Linked DNA regions of Homo sapiens: region 2 is linked to region 1. Evidence: promoter capture Hi-C in human tissues and cell types (Jung and others, 2019). All regions are on one chromosome and are shown on one strand. The core of a region is centred on a gene start or on the middle of the fragment in contact, and the rest is flanking DNA. Distances in the headings are between cores, read along the strand shown.

Region 1 (7,382 bases), core at 4,883-7,382:
GGTTGAGGCTGCAGTGAGCCATGATGGTGCCATTGCACTCCAGATTGGATGACACAATGAAACTGTTTCTTAAAAAAGAAAGAAAGAAAGAAAGAAAAAAAAAAGAAAGAAAATTTAAGCTACCATAACTGTGTTCGTACGACAAATTCCTTTAAGAAGGAAAAGAAAAGGGGAAAGGCATTACAATTCTTTAAGCCCCTGCTATATGCTTGTTCCATGTGGCGTAGATTTACGCATTGATCCTCACAGCACCTTATTTTCACGTTAGATTAACTGAGGCTCGGAGAGGTTAAGTGGCCTGACCAAGATCATTGGCTCAGAAAGGGAAGGAGCCAGGATTCACACTTGAATCAGTCTGGGGGAAATATTATTGCTGCTCTACAGCAGATGTTTTGTAGTTTCATGAGTTGATGGAGAAACTCTGGTTTATCTTATAAACTTCAAGGCAGAACAGCAAGAGGCCATGGTGGAGAAGCAACTGTCCAGTAGCATAACCATTACAACCTGCAGGAAGTAAAATTGCTGAGGTGTGATGGATGCTTATTCTGCACCAGGTCCTGCATTCATACCACACTTAACTCTCACAGCAACCTTAAGAGGGAGGTACCATACTGTTACCATTTTGCAAATGAGGATGCAGGCTCAGCAAAGGTAGAAAAGTTGCCCAAAGTCACATATATAGAAAGTAGTGGAGCTATTGGTCTGACTCCTCATCCTATGTTAATTACTGGATACACAGACTAGGGTAGAAATTATTGGCTACTAGCTGGACTTTGAAAAAAGAACCTTAAAACTGTAAGATGGTAGGTCTTTAAGCAATTCGTAGGCTAATGCCCAGAGTCAGAGATAAGGTTGTTTGCTTACTTTGATATGGAATGGTTTGTAATATTTCAACACTGGAGTATAGTATATGAAGAACAATTACATGTTGATTGATGTAGCTAAGATACCAATTAGAGTCTAAGAGCACATGCAGGCATGTCTGACAAACTGGGAGGGCAAGTAATCCAAACACTCTGAAGACCATTTGCCTGAAGACCTCGGGGTATCTTATGAGATAACTCATATTAAGAGAAGGAGTGGAACATAAGCTTGACTCAGTACAACAGTTTTGGTCATTATTATAGACTGGTTCTCACAAAAGCATTGACTCTGACTTTCAGATTGCTTCCATAGCACAGCCCCACACTAAACGGTGTAGTTTTCAAAACCTGAAAGAATAGTTTTAATAAAACTCAGTAACTCAGTCCAACACTGGGGTAGAACAGCACTATCTTGAAAGCCCTCTAACCTGTAACTCAAACAGAAAACATTCTGCCGCCAGTTTCTTTGCTAAAACATAGCAAGAGTCCAGTTTCCAACAAGTTCCTCATCTCCATCTGAGACCACCTCAGCCTGGATTTCATTGTCCATATCACTATTAGCCTTTTGATCAAAGCCATTCAACAAGTCTCTAGGAAGTTCCAAAATTTCCCACATTTTCCTGTCTTCTGAGCCCTCCAAACTATTCCAACCCCTGCCTGTTACCCGGTTCCAAAGTTGCTTCCACATTTTCAGGTATCTTTTCAGCAGCGCCCCACTCTACTGGTGCCAATTTACTGTATTAGTCCATTTTCACGCTGCTGATAAACACATACCCAAGAATGGGCAATTTACAAAAGACAGAGGTTTACTGGACTTAGAGCTCCCCGTGGCTTGGGAGGCCTCAAAGGCTGTCTTGAATGGCGGCAGACAAGAGAAAAGAGCTTACGCACGGAAACTTCCGTTTTTAAAACCATCAGATCTCATGAGACTTACTCACTATCACGAGAACAGCAGAGGAAAGACCTGCTCCCATGATTCAGTTACCTCCCACCAGGTTCGTCCAATGACACGTGGGAATTGTGGGAGCTACAATGCAAGATGAGATTTGGGTGAGGACACAGCCAAACCATATCAAAGCCCAACGGCTCTGCAGAAGAAATGCAAGAGGACCATGCGTCCCTTGAAAAATTATGAAATTTAGCATGGAGATGCAAATGTACATATTTCTGAGGAGACAGTCTTGTTTTTGTCAGCATCTCAAAACATTATGTAACTTAAAAATGTTTAGAAACAATTGTTGGAATTTTGATTTTTATGTATTCTAAAGCCAAATAAATGTGAGGAAAAGTATATTTCAGTGCATACATATTACCGGGGATACTCACAAACTGTGGGCATAAATTGGGTCACATTAATAGTACATTCTGATTCTTGAATCCTCACTTGAACCAGGATTTGTAGAAGCTCTAATTTTTTTTTTTTACTATTTCATTAATTTTTGAGAGGAATTATTTCTCATGTCCAAATAGAGTTAATCCTTGAGAGTTTGACCTCATATTCAAAAGATGAAGGTAAATGTTATGGTTTTACACCTCATGGTTCAAATGAAATGTAGAAGGGACTTACTTACTAAGCCAATTTGAGGTGCGCTTTACTGGGTACCGTGTATAAAGGGTGGAAGTTTCTGAGGCTGATTTTGACACGTACTCTTTGCTCCCACCTCTTTCCTTCAGGTTAGGGAATGTTTTTGTTTTTACAGCTTCAAGCCTTTTTTTTTTCCTTATTCTTGTGTTATTGTTTTTATTTTGTACCATTTTATTGGTTTGGTTGGTTTTTTAGCTGTTTTGGTTTTTACAGTTTTTACACATGGTATATGAATGTGTAGGGCCACAGGTTGATTTTCATTCACTTTTTTATTAGAAAGCTTTTTCTTAATGTTTATTCTACTTGACCTGTTGCTTTTCTGTATTTTAATATTAATTTATAGATAGTGTACATTAAGGGAGATCAATTTTCTTCATTTTAAGAAATCCAGATACTTCAGATCCTACTTCTTTATGTACTCAGATGACAAAAATCCATTTTCTAAGGTCACAGAGTTCCTGAATAGAAGCGTCTAAAGAGAAATCTCTCAAGATCAGCACCTTGAAGTGGGCAGACACACTGGCACACTTGGACTCCCATCTCTCTCTCTCTCTTTTTTTTTTTTTTTCTGAGATAGAGTTTCACTCTTGTTGCCCAGGCTGGAGTGTAGTGGCAGGACCTTGGCTCATTGCAACCTCCGCCTTCTGGTTTCAAGCGATTCTCCTGCCTCAGCCTCCCAAATAGCTGGGATTACAGGCGACCTCCACCACTCCTGGCTAATTTTTGTATTTTTAGTAGAGACAGGGTTTCACCATGTTGGCCAGGCTGGTCTCAAACTCCTGACCTCATGATCCACCTGCCTCAGCCTCCCAAAGTGCTGGGATTACAGGTGTGAGCCACCACGCCCGGCCCCCTCCCATCTCTTTTATCATGTTTCTGATGCTCTCCATGGGCTGGGGATTGCTAAGGTGGTAAGGGTGTTGTAAAATTCTGCAGTGGGGAAGAACTGCACTTATTTAATATTTGCTCAAAATGTCGCTCTTTGAGCTGACTTGGGAAGTGACTTTGCCTGCTTCCAAAATGACAGTTATGACCTTATAAAGTTCCCCAGGAATTTGAGAGCCAAATTTAATTATATTTTCTCTGCAATGTACTCAGTACCCAAGGCTGCAGCTGCAGAAAGCTAAAAAATAAAAGGAATAAAATAAAAAGGAATGGGTGGGGGATTGAACCAATCAGTTTATTGCCATAAACTCTCTCCTAAAAAAGTCTCTACAGTATTCACAAGCATATTAATCTAATGCGGGAGTTGATCTTACCTGAACATATTACAGCAAAGTAATATGGTATCTGACAGATGGTATTTGACAGATGGTATCTGTCAAACTCATAATGACATCATTGGGAATTATTCTGAATTTTAAATCCAGAAGATAACTTTTTAAAAAGACAGTTCACAGAGATTGATGTAATTGCTTCCTGTTAGTAGGTTAGGCTTCATCTTTGATGGAGAAGAGGACATCGAAGTGTTATATATTTTCCCATGTAGTCATAATGCTAAACAGCAAATTAAAATATCTGAATCTCAGTTCTGGCCTTGCCACAGTCTAGCTAGGCAATGTGGGGCAAGTCATTTAATGTGTCTTCACATTTCTGAAAATGAAAGCTGAATGATATCTTTTTTTCTGGCTATATAACATTTACAAATCCTAAAATGTCAGTGATGGGAGCCCATATTCTTTTCTGAAATCTCATCTTGCCTACCTTGAGGGAGAACTCATGGGGTGCTGAAGACACAGGGCTCTGCAGAGTGTTGGATAAGTGTTTTCTCTGCTCTTCTAATTAGGTCAAATGGCTCCTCTAGCTGGCATCAGATTAGCTGTGTTAGTGACATTCACACTGGTCCAGATAAGGATGCAGACTTACCTCTTCACACCCATGCAACCAGCCCAAAGTGGAGGAGGCTGAGTCATGTGGGAAGATATGTTCTGACAGACTTATCTTTCTGGTTTCAGCATCTGGCTCCTTCACCCACCACATTCCAAAAGTCTGCATATTGGTGTGGCTGCTGTTAGCTCAACCCTGAAGAATTGATGTAATAGAGAAATATTTCACTTTAAGTAATATTTTTTTAACTTTTAACACATTCTTTACTTAAAACGACAAATAAATCAACCCTCCTGACCTGCTCAATCATTAGTATGCTAAGGGATTGTTCACATTTGCCTCACATTCAGTTGAACTGAGACATTTAGTTCATGAAAATAACTAGGCTGCAACCCATTATTTTAAACAATAGCTTTGTAGATTCTGGATATTATCCCTTAAACAACCCCATCAAAAAGTGGGCGAAGGATATGAACAGACACTTCTCAAAAGAAGACACTTATGCAGCCAACAGACACATGAAAAAATGCTCATCATCACTGGCCATCAGAGAAATGCAAATCAAAACCACAATGAGATATCATCTCACACCAGTTAGAATGGGGATCATTAAAAAGTCAGGAAACAACAGGTGCTGGAGAGGATGTGGAGAAATAGGAACACTTACACTGTTGGTGGGACTGTAAACTAGTTCAACCATTGTGGAAGACAGTGTGGCGATTCCTCAGGGATCTAGAACTAGAAATACCATTTGACCCAGCCATCCCATTACTGGGTATATACCCAAAGGAATATAAATCGTGCTGCTATAAAGACACATGCACATGTATGTTTATTGCAGCACTGTTCACAATAGCAAAGACTTGGAACCAACTCAAGTGTCCAACAATGATAGACTGGATTAAGAAAATGTGGCACCTATACACCATGGAATACTATGCAGCCATAAAAAAGGAAGCATTCATGTCCTTTGTAGGGACATGGATGAAGCTGGAAACCATCATTCTCAGCAGACTATCACAAGGACAAAAAGCCAAACACTGCATGTTCTCACTCATAGGTGGGAATTGAACAATGAGAACACTTGGACACAGGAAGGGGAATATCACACACCGGGGTCTGTCGTGGGGTGGGGGAAGTGGGGAGGGATAGCATTAGGAGATATACCTAATGTAAATGACAAGTTAATGGGTGCAGCACACCAACATGGCACTTATATACTTACATAACAAACCTGCACGTTGTGCACATGTACCCTAGAACTTAAAATATAATAAATATATATAAAAAACTAAAATACACAATAGCTGATGATTTATTTACTAGATAATCCATCTAGTCATATCCCAGTGATTAACTAGTGATTACAACTTAAAATAAAAATTTTGTGTATATCTATTTAATTGAACTAGACGAAATGGGCTAAACATGGAAGATTCATTTTCTTCTAATCAATGTTCTCACCCATCCCTAAAAGTAGAAAATGTCCATAAAATTTTAGATATTTTAAATAAAAGCACTTATCACAACACTTATCTTTAACCAAAAAACAGTGATCATTGAAGACCCAGAATATGACTATAGAAACTTTCAGTGCTTTCTGTAGACTCCATCTTTTGCTATCTATCAAAGAAAGATAAAATCTAGGAGTGGAAGGAAAGAGGTTCCCTACACTCCTTATTACCTGGTGATAAAGTACAGGGGTTTTAATAGGCTGTATCAAATGCACAAAATTCCAGGTCACATCAAAGAAAGTTCTACACACCTGGAAGTTGAAGGATTAGGGATTACAAGTTGTGTGAGGGAGGAATGGGAGGAGTCAGATAGTATTGGGACATCCTAGGCAATGTTTCCAGCCTACTTTGTGTTCTTTCCCTACCAACTAAGCTTGCCTAATTTGCTTCAGAATTGGAAGAGGGAATTGCAGCAGGAAAATATGTGAAGAGTTTTTAAACCCACAAATTCTTCTTACTTTAGAATTAGTTGTTACATTGGCAGGAAAAAATAAATGCAGATGTTGGACCATGTTGGAAACCTTGTCAAGACAGTGGATTGTCTCACACAGAATGGAAATGTGGCTTCTGATTCTGGTGGCGTATATGTTCCAGAGAAATGTGAATTCAGTACATATGCCAACTAAAGCTGTGGACCCAGAAGCATTCATGAATATTGTAAGTTGGGATTTCTGGGAAATGAGGTACTTAACATGTTAACGTTTGTATCTGTGTATTATTTACATTATGTATTATATTTATACATGGTGGTGATTCATACTAGAAGAGCATAGTGATGAAGTAGCAAATTGTACTGGAAAGAATGCTAAACTGGATGTCAGTAGACCTGGGGTCTCCTCACACAAATTTAGTAAACTTGGGCAAATGACTTAATCTCTTTGAGCTTCAAACACAATTTAACTTTTCCTTGAACACTTTGGTTCATCCTATGAGTGGAGAAGTAATTAAGGCCTTTTAAGTTCACCCCAGTCCCTTGATTATTTCCATTTTGTCTGTACCTTTTATTCTTTTATTCTTTTTTTCCATATTGCAAAGGTGTCAGCCTTTGCTTCTTGCTATCAGGGCACACACTTCTAGTAGCATCTTATACCATTCTAATCTACTCTTTTTATCCTGTTTCTGGACTGGTACTTTGCTGAATAGCAATAAAAGGACCCCGAGTTAGTGCTACACAGAACCTCCTACAAGTAAAATGCATAAATGACAGTACATCTCTTTAGTTTTCCCAGGAGGTTTTTTTTTTTTTTTTTTTTGGTAGCTTTTCAAATTCTAAGCTGGGTTTTAGTAATGGTCACCCTATGGTAACACTTATCCCATAGCAGGGATTATGACACAAGCAGAGATACTATTCTATTTCAATTTCATTGCCCTGTGCAGTAGATAGGATCATTCACATATTTCAAATCTAGATACTGAGATTAAAGAGGTTAAACAAGTTGAACAAGGCCATACCAATGTAATAGCATAGCTACTATTTAAATTCAGGACTGCCTAAACACAAAGTCTATAATTATAAATACTACGCAATAAACCCTCCCAGGTGAGAAAGAGGAGAGGCTACCTCCAGATGAGTAAGACGATCATGTGCAATGT
Region 2 (7,382 bases), core at 3,365-5,864, 420 kb before region 1:
CTCTTCCCTTTCTCTTTTATTCCATTTATGAACAAGACACCAACTTCTACCACAACAACAGAACAAAACAACCCCTAGCTTCAAAGAGAACAAAAAAACCCCAAAATAAATTAAAAATGGCTTTAATGCTTAGAGTTGCAGGGACAAGAAAAACCACATTCTTTTAAAATGAAATTAGATGTCATAAAGGACTATGAACTAGTAAGAGTTCCCCGAAGTCCCCTTCCGAATCTCACAAAAGACTCCATCTCCTTCTTCATCTGGCTTTTTGTTAATAACCAATGTCCAATATAAATAGAAACATTGCTTTGTTTTGATTGTATTGCTCTTTCATTTGTGCAAATGGTAGTATTTCTATTGTATCAATGATAAACTTTTTCAGGCAAGCCTGAGATGGCAGATTACAACATTATTTCTATGGGAACACCCATTCCTAATTGGAAACAATCAGATTACCAACAGAGAGTTCATAAACTGAGAGCTGCCTGCAATGAGAACTGATTTACACTCTGGTTTCTAATTTAGAAACAATTTCACTGTGCTAGTTTCTCCTTTTGCACAAAGATTTAGGATGGTGCAGTAGGGTAAGGAAAAATGGCTTCCCTTCAGTCTGCTAGGTTCTTTGGCTGGGCTACAAATTAAATTGCCATAAAACAGATTAATAGGAGAAAACCATATTTAATAACATGTATGCATGGGAGTCCCATAAAATATGGGATTGGAAGAAGGATCAGATGATTATATAGCATCCTGAGGTACAGAAAGGAGTAGGGGCTTGGCACTTCCAGGGGATGGTGGCAACACAAGCAATGGGAGGATAAGGGGAGACAATGTATGGTGAATAAATGGTTGTCTTACGCAGACATAAGGTCTCTCACGTAATACAAGTTATCTGGGAGCAGCCCTCAGAAAAATAGGTGTTAATCTGTGGGGTCATGGTGTCCACCTCCAATCTCCTCTCCTGTGATCGAAGTTAATCTTCCTTGGTTGATAAGATTCCCAGGGAGGGGATTCATGACAATTTAGTTCCTTTTGGGGGCTGTCTTTAGGAAGACTAAAGGGAGCTCAGAGGAAGCCTCTGCCGGCATCCACTGTTCCCCAAGTGTCCTCAGTTCAAAGCAATAAACATACCAATGTGTCATATTTTGGGGTGGCATTTCCTGAATCCCTTTAGTGAAAAAAGGAGAAAATAAGAATAGGCACCTCATAGAAAAATTTACCTCTATTTCAAATAATGCATATTGGGAAATTGAATTGAATGATGAAGCAAATAAAATATTTATTTATTGTATGTAATATAGATGAGTCAATGTCGCTTTGAGAAATTTAACTTTTTAATTTGCTAACTTGGTGTTTGTATTGCATTAGCAATTGCAAATGAATATTATTCTCTTGCAAGTGTCAAAAAGATAATGTTGTGGGGAAAGCAGCTCCAACTGTTACTCAGGCATGGCTGGAAAAAGCTTGCACTCTTCATTGTCTTTTTCTAGTCACTGAATCGCCAGCTTTATTTCTATGGTGGCAGGTATACCAAAATCAGAATGGGATTACACTCACATATTAGTATATACAGCAACCTGCCTGTGTGAAATATATGCAAATCTTCCCCTACATACCATGTAGTTAACTCTACAATGAACAATATATAAATATTGTGGGTAAAGTAAATCAATATAAAATCATACATTCACATTCACAATATTTTAAAAATATCAAAATGGTTTTGGCTAAGAACATAAAACATTTTATTTTTGGAAAAGGAAGTCTGTTTCAATAGTCTTGTTAAAAATACTACCATATAAACTATGCACTTAAGATACAAAAAAAGAGTAACACTTAACTTCATAAGAAATATCAAACCATTTATTATAAATTATTCATTAAACGTAGTGAATTATTTTATATGGGAAAATTCTCTTTGAAATAATATTTGTATGGCTTCCTAAAATCAGACAAGGTTAGCTACACTTGAGTTTCTTACTTTCTTGCATATAAGTCAGAAATATTCTTTGAAAAGCTCAAATACAAGATAAGGTGTATTCTCCACATCTCTGTGTGTGTGTGTCGCATGCATGCACACACATTATCTCCACATACACACACATATACACACACACACACACACGCACACATCCTTATTGTTATTTTCTTCTCATCTTCTAAATGTATTTATTTGACTCCCAGTAGAAGACAACTGTAAGCTACAGGGAAAAAATGCAATTAAATTTATGTTCAGAAGAACATAAACAATGGGAATATGTTCTGAGAAATTCATCATTAGGTGATTTTGCATTATGTGAATATCATAGAGAGTACTTACACAAATGTAGCTAGTATAACCTACTACATACCTAGGCTATATGGTCTAGTGGATTGCTCCTAGGCTACAAATCTGTACAGATGTTACTGTACTGAATACTACAGGTGACTGTAACACATGTTACGTATTTGTGTATCTACACATAGAAAAGGTACAATAAAAATACAGTGTAGAAGATAAACAATGGTACATGTGTATGGACACTTACCATAGATAGAGATTGCAAGATGAAAGTTGCTGTGGGTGAGTCAGTGAGTCAATGGTGAATGAATGTGAAGGCCTAGGACATTGCTGTAATCTTCTGTAGACTTTATATACACTGTACACATAGGCTACTCTAAATTTATTTTAACAAATTTTCTTCAATAATAAATTAATCTTAGCTTCCTTAACATTTGTACTTTGTAAACTTTTTTTTAAACTTTCTCTTTTGTAATAACACTTAGCTTAAAACACACATTGCATAGCTGTACGAAAATATTTTCTTTATATCCTTATTTTATAAATTTGTATTTTTAATTTTTTTTTTACTTTTTAAGCTTTATCATTAAAAACTAAGACATAAACACACAGATTAGCTTAGGTATACACAGGGTCAGGGTCGTCAATATCACTGTCTTCCACCTCCCCGTACTGTCCCACTAGAAGGTCTTCAAGGAGCATTAACACACATGAAGCTGTTTATCTCCTATAACAATGTCTTCTTTAGGAATACTTACTGAAGGAACTGCCTGAGGCCATTTTACAGCTAACTAAAAAAAAAATAAGTCTAAGAAGTACACTCTAAAATAATGATAAAAAATATGGTATTGGAGCTCAGAAAACAGTACCTCAAAAGGAAGGCCTCAGAAGCAAAAGGTTCTCCCTGATCTTTTGCCATCCTGTTTCTGGCCACTCATTCTCTCTTAAGGCTGGCCATTGAAACTAGAATCCCTTCTTCCCAAGGCACGTCATAGAAACCAGAACCCTTTTCCCCAAAGCCAGCTTAAAAATATTACTTTAACTTAAAATAAAATTTTAAAATATTACTTTAACTCCCACCTCACCCCTGCCTTTCTGTATAAAAATTGGCCATAAAAAATTATCTCACCTACCTTGTTTGACTGTAGGTCATAAGACCCCCCATTCTAGAGAGGCTCCTGCCCCTTACCCAGAAGTAAGGAACGCTGCACAGAAAGGCCAGGAAGAATCTAAACAGACAGGCCTTACTGGGTTCTCCCACTCAGTCTATTAGCATTAGATCATACCCTTTTTGTCCAATCATATTTGCACATGCTATACATACTTTGTTGAACCAAAGTATAAAAATGGACTGTTTCCTTCATCTTTGTGTCTTCATTCTAAAGGCTCCCAAGTCATGTAAAATTATAATAAATTTGTATTTGCCTTTTTTATTAATCTGCTGTTTTGTCAGTTGATTTCCATCAAACCTTCAGAGGGTGAAGGAGAAGTTTTCCCTGGGTCCCTACAATAGTATAGATAAATACATAAACCAGTAACATAGTCATTTACTACCACTATAAAGTATTATGTACTGTATATATTTGTATGTGCTATACTTTTATATGACTGGCAAAGCAATAGGTTTATTTACAGCAGCATCACCACAAACATATGAGCAATGCATTTTGCTCTGGCATTATGATGGCTACAACATCACGAGGTCATAGGAATTTTTCAGCTCCATTACAATCTTATAGGACCACTAGTGTCATTAACTGGAATGTTGTTGTGTGGCACTTGACCATATATGTTTTAATGTTGAAGAGTGAATTAAATTAATAACAGGGAATTTCTTTGCTTTGGTTTACTTAAATGTGAAAATGGATTGCTATTTAAGCAGAGTGTACAAAATAAATACTTTTTTCACATTCTAGTAAAATGGCCAGTTTAATAATATTTTGAACAAAAAAAATTCCCCCCAGACCAAGGTGTTTTTTATTTAATAGGGAAAAATAGTGCTAAAATTTCAAATGATTTTTTTTTTCTTTCTTTTCTGTCACTCCTCTGGCTCTTTTTCCCAATGAATGAATGAACCTGGGAAGAATTATCAGTCTGATACGTGGTAAGTAAGTGGTTTCTAGGTATTTAATATGCCTTTTCCTGATAACTAATTTGCCAGATAGATTTTCCAAAAATGGTTGCAACAATATCTCCCATCCCTGATTCTCTTCTTAAATATGACTTTGACAACTTTTCTATCAAGAGGTAGGGTCTATATCCCCTTCCCTTGAAACTAAGAGGGTCTGTGGTTAAGGCAGAACTGACACTCAGTGACTTTTGAGCTAAGTCATAAAAGATGATACAACTTATGGCTGGTTCTGACTCAATCTTGGAACCCAGCCATCATGTTGTGAAGAATCTCAGGACATTTACAGAGGCTTCATAGGTTTCTGGCAGACAGCTCCAGCTTACAACAGCATCAACCAACAGACTTGTGAGTGAAGATGGCTCCTGAAGGTATCAGCCCCCCGCTGTCCAGTCACCTCCCAGCTTTTGAGTCTTTCCAGCCGAGACCCCAGACACCAAGGCACAGAGACAAACGTCTGCATTGTAACCTGTCCAAAATTCTGACCCACAGAGTTCTTGGCATAATATAATGATTGTTTTATGTCACTAAAGTTTGGAGTGGCTTGTCACATTGCAATAAAAAATTGCAACAACGAAGGAGGTTGATTATCTTTTCATGCTTATTGATCATTTGCATTTCTTCTGTGTACTGTCTATTCACAAATTTTGCCTGTTTGACTCTTGGGTTATTTGTCTTGCTCATATTTTCTGCATATTAATCCTACTTTTGTTACCTATATTGCAAATGTATTCAACCAGTTGCTTGCTAGGTAATAGAGAAATTTGAGTTTTATGTATCCGTTCATTGTTTTCATTTTTTAGTCTTGGGGTTTTGTATCTTTTTTTTTTTTTTTTTTTTTTTTTTTGAGACGACGGAGTCTCTCTCTGTCACCCAGGCTGGAGTGCAGTGGCGTGATCTCCGCTCACTGCAAGCTCTGCCTCCCGGGTTCATGCTGTTTTCCTGCCTCAGCCTCCCAAATAGCTGGGACCACAGGCGCCCGCCACCATGCCCAGCTAATTTTTTTTTTTTTTGTATTTTTTAGTAGAGACGGGGTTTCACTGTGTTAGCCAGGATGGTCTCGATCTCCTGACCTCGTGATCCGCCAGCCTCGGCCTCCCGAAGTGCTGGGATTACAGGCGTGAGCCACTGTGCCCGGCCGGTTTTGTGTCTTTTTTAGAAAAAGGCTTTCCCATTTGAAGAATATAAAAATATCCTATACTTTCTTCTAGCACTTTTATACCTTTTCTTATTCATCATAAGATCAGTCTCTGACTCTATCTTGAATTTATTATTTTACATGGTATGGGACAGTGAAAATCTAACTCTTTTTAGATGGATAGTCAGTTGTCTCTGTACCATTTATTTAAATCATCCATTCTTTTTCCATTGATTTGAAATGCCTCCTTTATGAACTAAATTCTTAAATAAATATATGTCTATTTCTAGACTGTCTATTCTGAACCATTAAACTGTTTGATCATTACTACAAAAGTGCCATTTTATTTTAATTTATATAGCTTTTTGATATGTTCTGATATCCAGTAGAACGCATAGTATAGTCTAATTTTTCTTCCCCCAGAAATATCTTTGCAGATTTTAAGAATTTCGTCTTTCAGATAAATTTCAGAATAAACTCGCCAAGTGCCTTGCTTGGCACTTAAGTCACAGCCTTGCTTTGACTTAATAAATTAATGTGTAGCAAACTGACATATTTATTATGTCTTCTTGTATATTAACATGGTATATTTCCCCATATATCCAGGTCATTTTGTAGATCCTTTAGCAAAGTTTTAGAAGTTTTCTTCATCTACTCACGTACAATTATTTTAGGCTTATTCCTAGGTAGTCTGTTGTTTTCGTTATTCTTGTGGATAGTTTTTTAAAAATACAATATTTTCAAATTGGCCATTGCTGAAGTATAGTAAAACTACTGAATTATGTATATATTTGTATGTGTATTTATATATATATACATATTAAAAGTATTTTTTGTTTTTTATATTCAGCTTTTAAAAAATTCTTTTATTAGTGATAATAGGCTTTCAGTTGATTCTCCTTGAATTTTCCCTCTAATTGTAGATGACCGTCCCTTTGAATTATAGATTACACTAGGTTTCTGTGATTAAACAAATATTAAGATGATATATCAAACAGAGACAGTTTTAAAGTACAAATTATATATCACTTAAAAGTTTCTAAATTTTAGAAAAATATTTATCAATGTTTTCTGAAATCTACTTTATACTTAGTTACCTAGAACAGGGGTTGGTAAACTACCATCCATGGGCCAAATCTGACCCCTGTCTGGTTTTTTTATATCCCCCCAGCTGATATAATGGTCTTTAAATTTTTAAGTGATTGAAAAATACAAAAATAACAATTTTTTGGTACATACAAATTATATGAAGTTCAAATTTCAGTATCCATAAATAAAGTTTTATTGGAACCAGCCATGCTCTTTCTTTCATATATATATCTATTATCTATGATCACTTTCCCACTACGATGGCAGAGTAGAGTAGTTGTGACATATTGACTGTATATGTTGCTTTTATTGCTTTGCAGTGCTGCTGGGTACACTACAAATCATACTGACATAGTTATCATTTGATTGTGTTTTACATGCCACGTTGTACTGTGACATCTTATTTTTTAAACTGCCATTTCATACCTATCATCTCAAAACAGTAAAAGAAGAGAAAAGTGGACTTCAAATGACAGGTACAGTGGAGTGTAGATGACTGTTATCAAATTAGATGGCAAAGCATTGTGTCTATTGTGCATGACACTTTGGCTATGCTAAAAAAATACAATATATACAGGCATTTCTAGGTTAAACACTCATCACATTATTCTCAACTCACCAGTAACCAATAGTCATAGAAATAAAAAATTAAATTGAATATATCATCACAGTAGAATTTTTTCACAAAAATAAAAAGTGCAAATAACACTGCATCAAAAATAATTTTCTGAGTAGCTCATTTGTTT

Evidence for each region. Contacts are between HindIII fragments. The study calls those that stand out against the background at their distance.
Region 2: a contact is called between a fragment that was not itself captured here and the fragment with the promoter of LIPM in region 1, in 1 of the 25 tissues and cell types used here (lymphoblastoid cells).

The regions. Positions count from the first base shown.
Region 1 is chr10:88,796,598-88,803,979 of GRCh38, forward strand. LIPM (lipase family member M) reads left to right here and starts at 6,133. Exons shown (of 9, transcript NM_001128215.1): 1 at 6,133-6,446. The coding sequence starts at 6,300. The HindIII fragment of the contact is 4,906 bases long and covers 1,910-6,815 here.
Region 2 is chr10:88,375,135-88,382,516 of GRCh38, forward strand. All of the region lies in intron 4 of RNLS (renalase, FAD dependent amine oxidase), which reads right to left. LOC101929727 (a long non-coding RNA gene) reads left to right here. Exons shown (of 3, transcript XR_001747537.3): 3 at 1-4,987. Among named protein-coding and RNA genes, the nearest start is that of RNLS, 200 kb to the right of the region's middle. The HindIII fragment of the contact is 4,906 bases long and covers 2,162-7,067 here.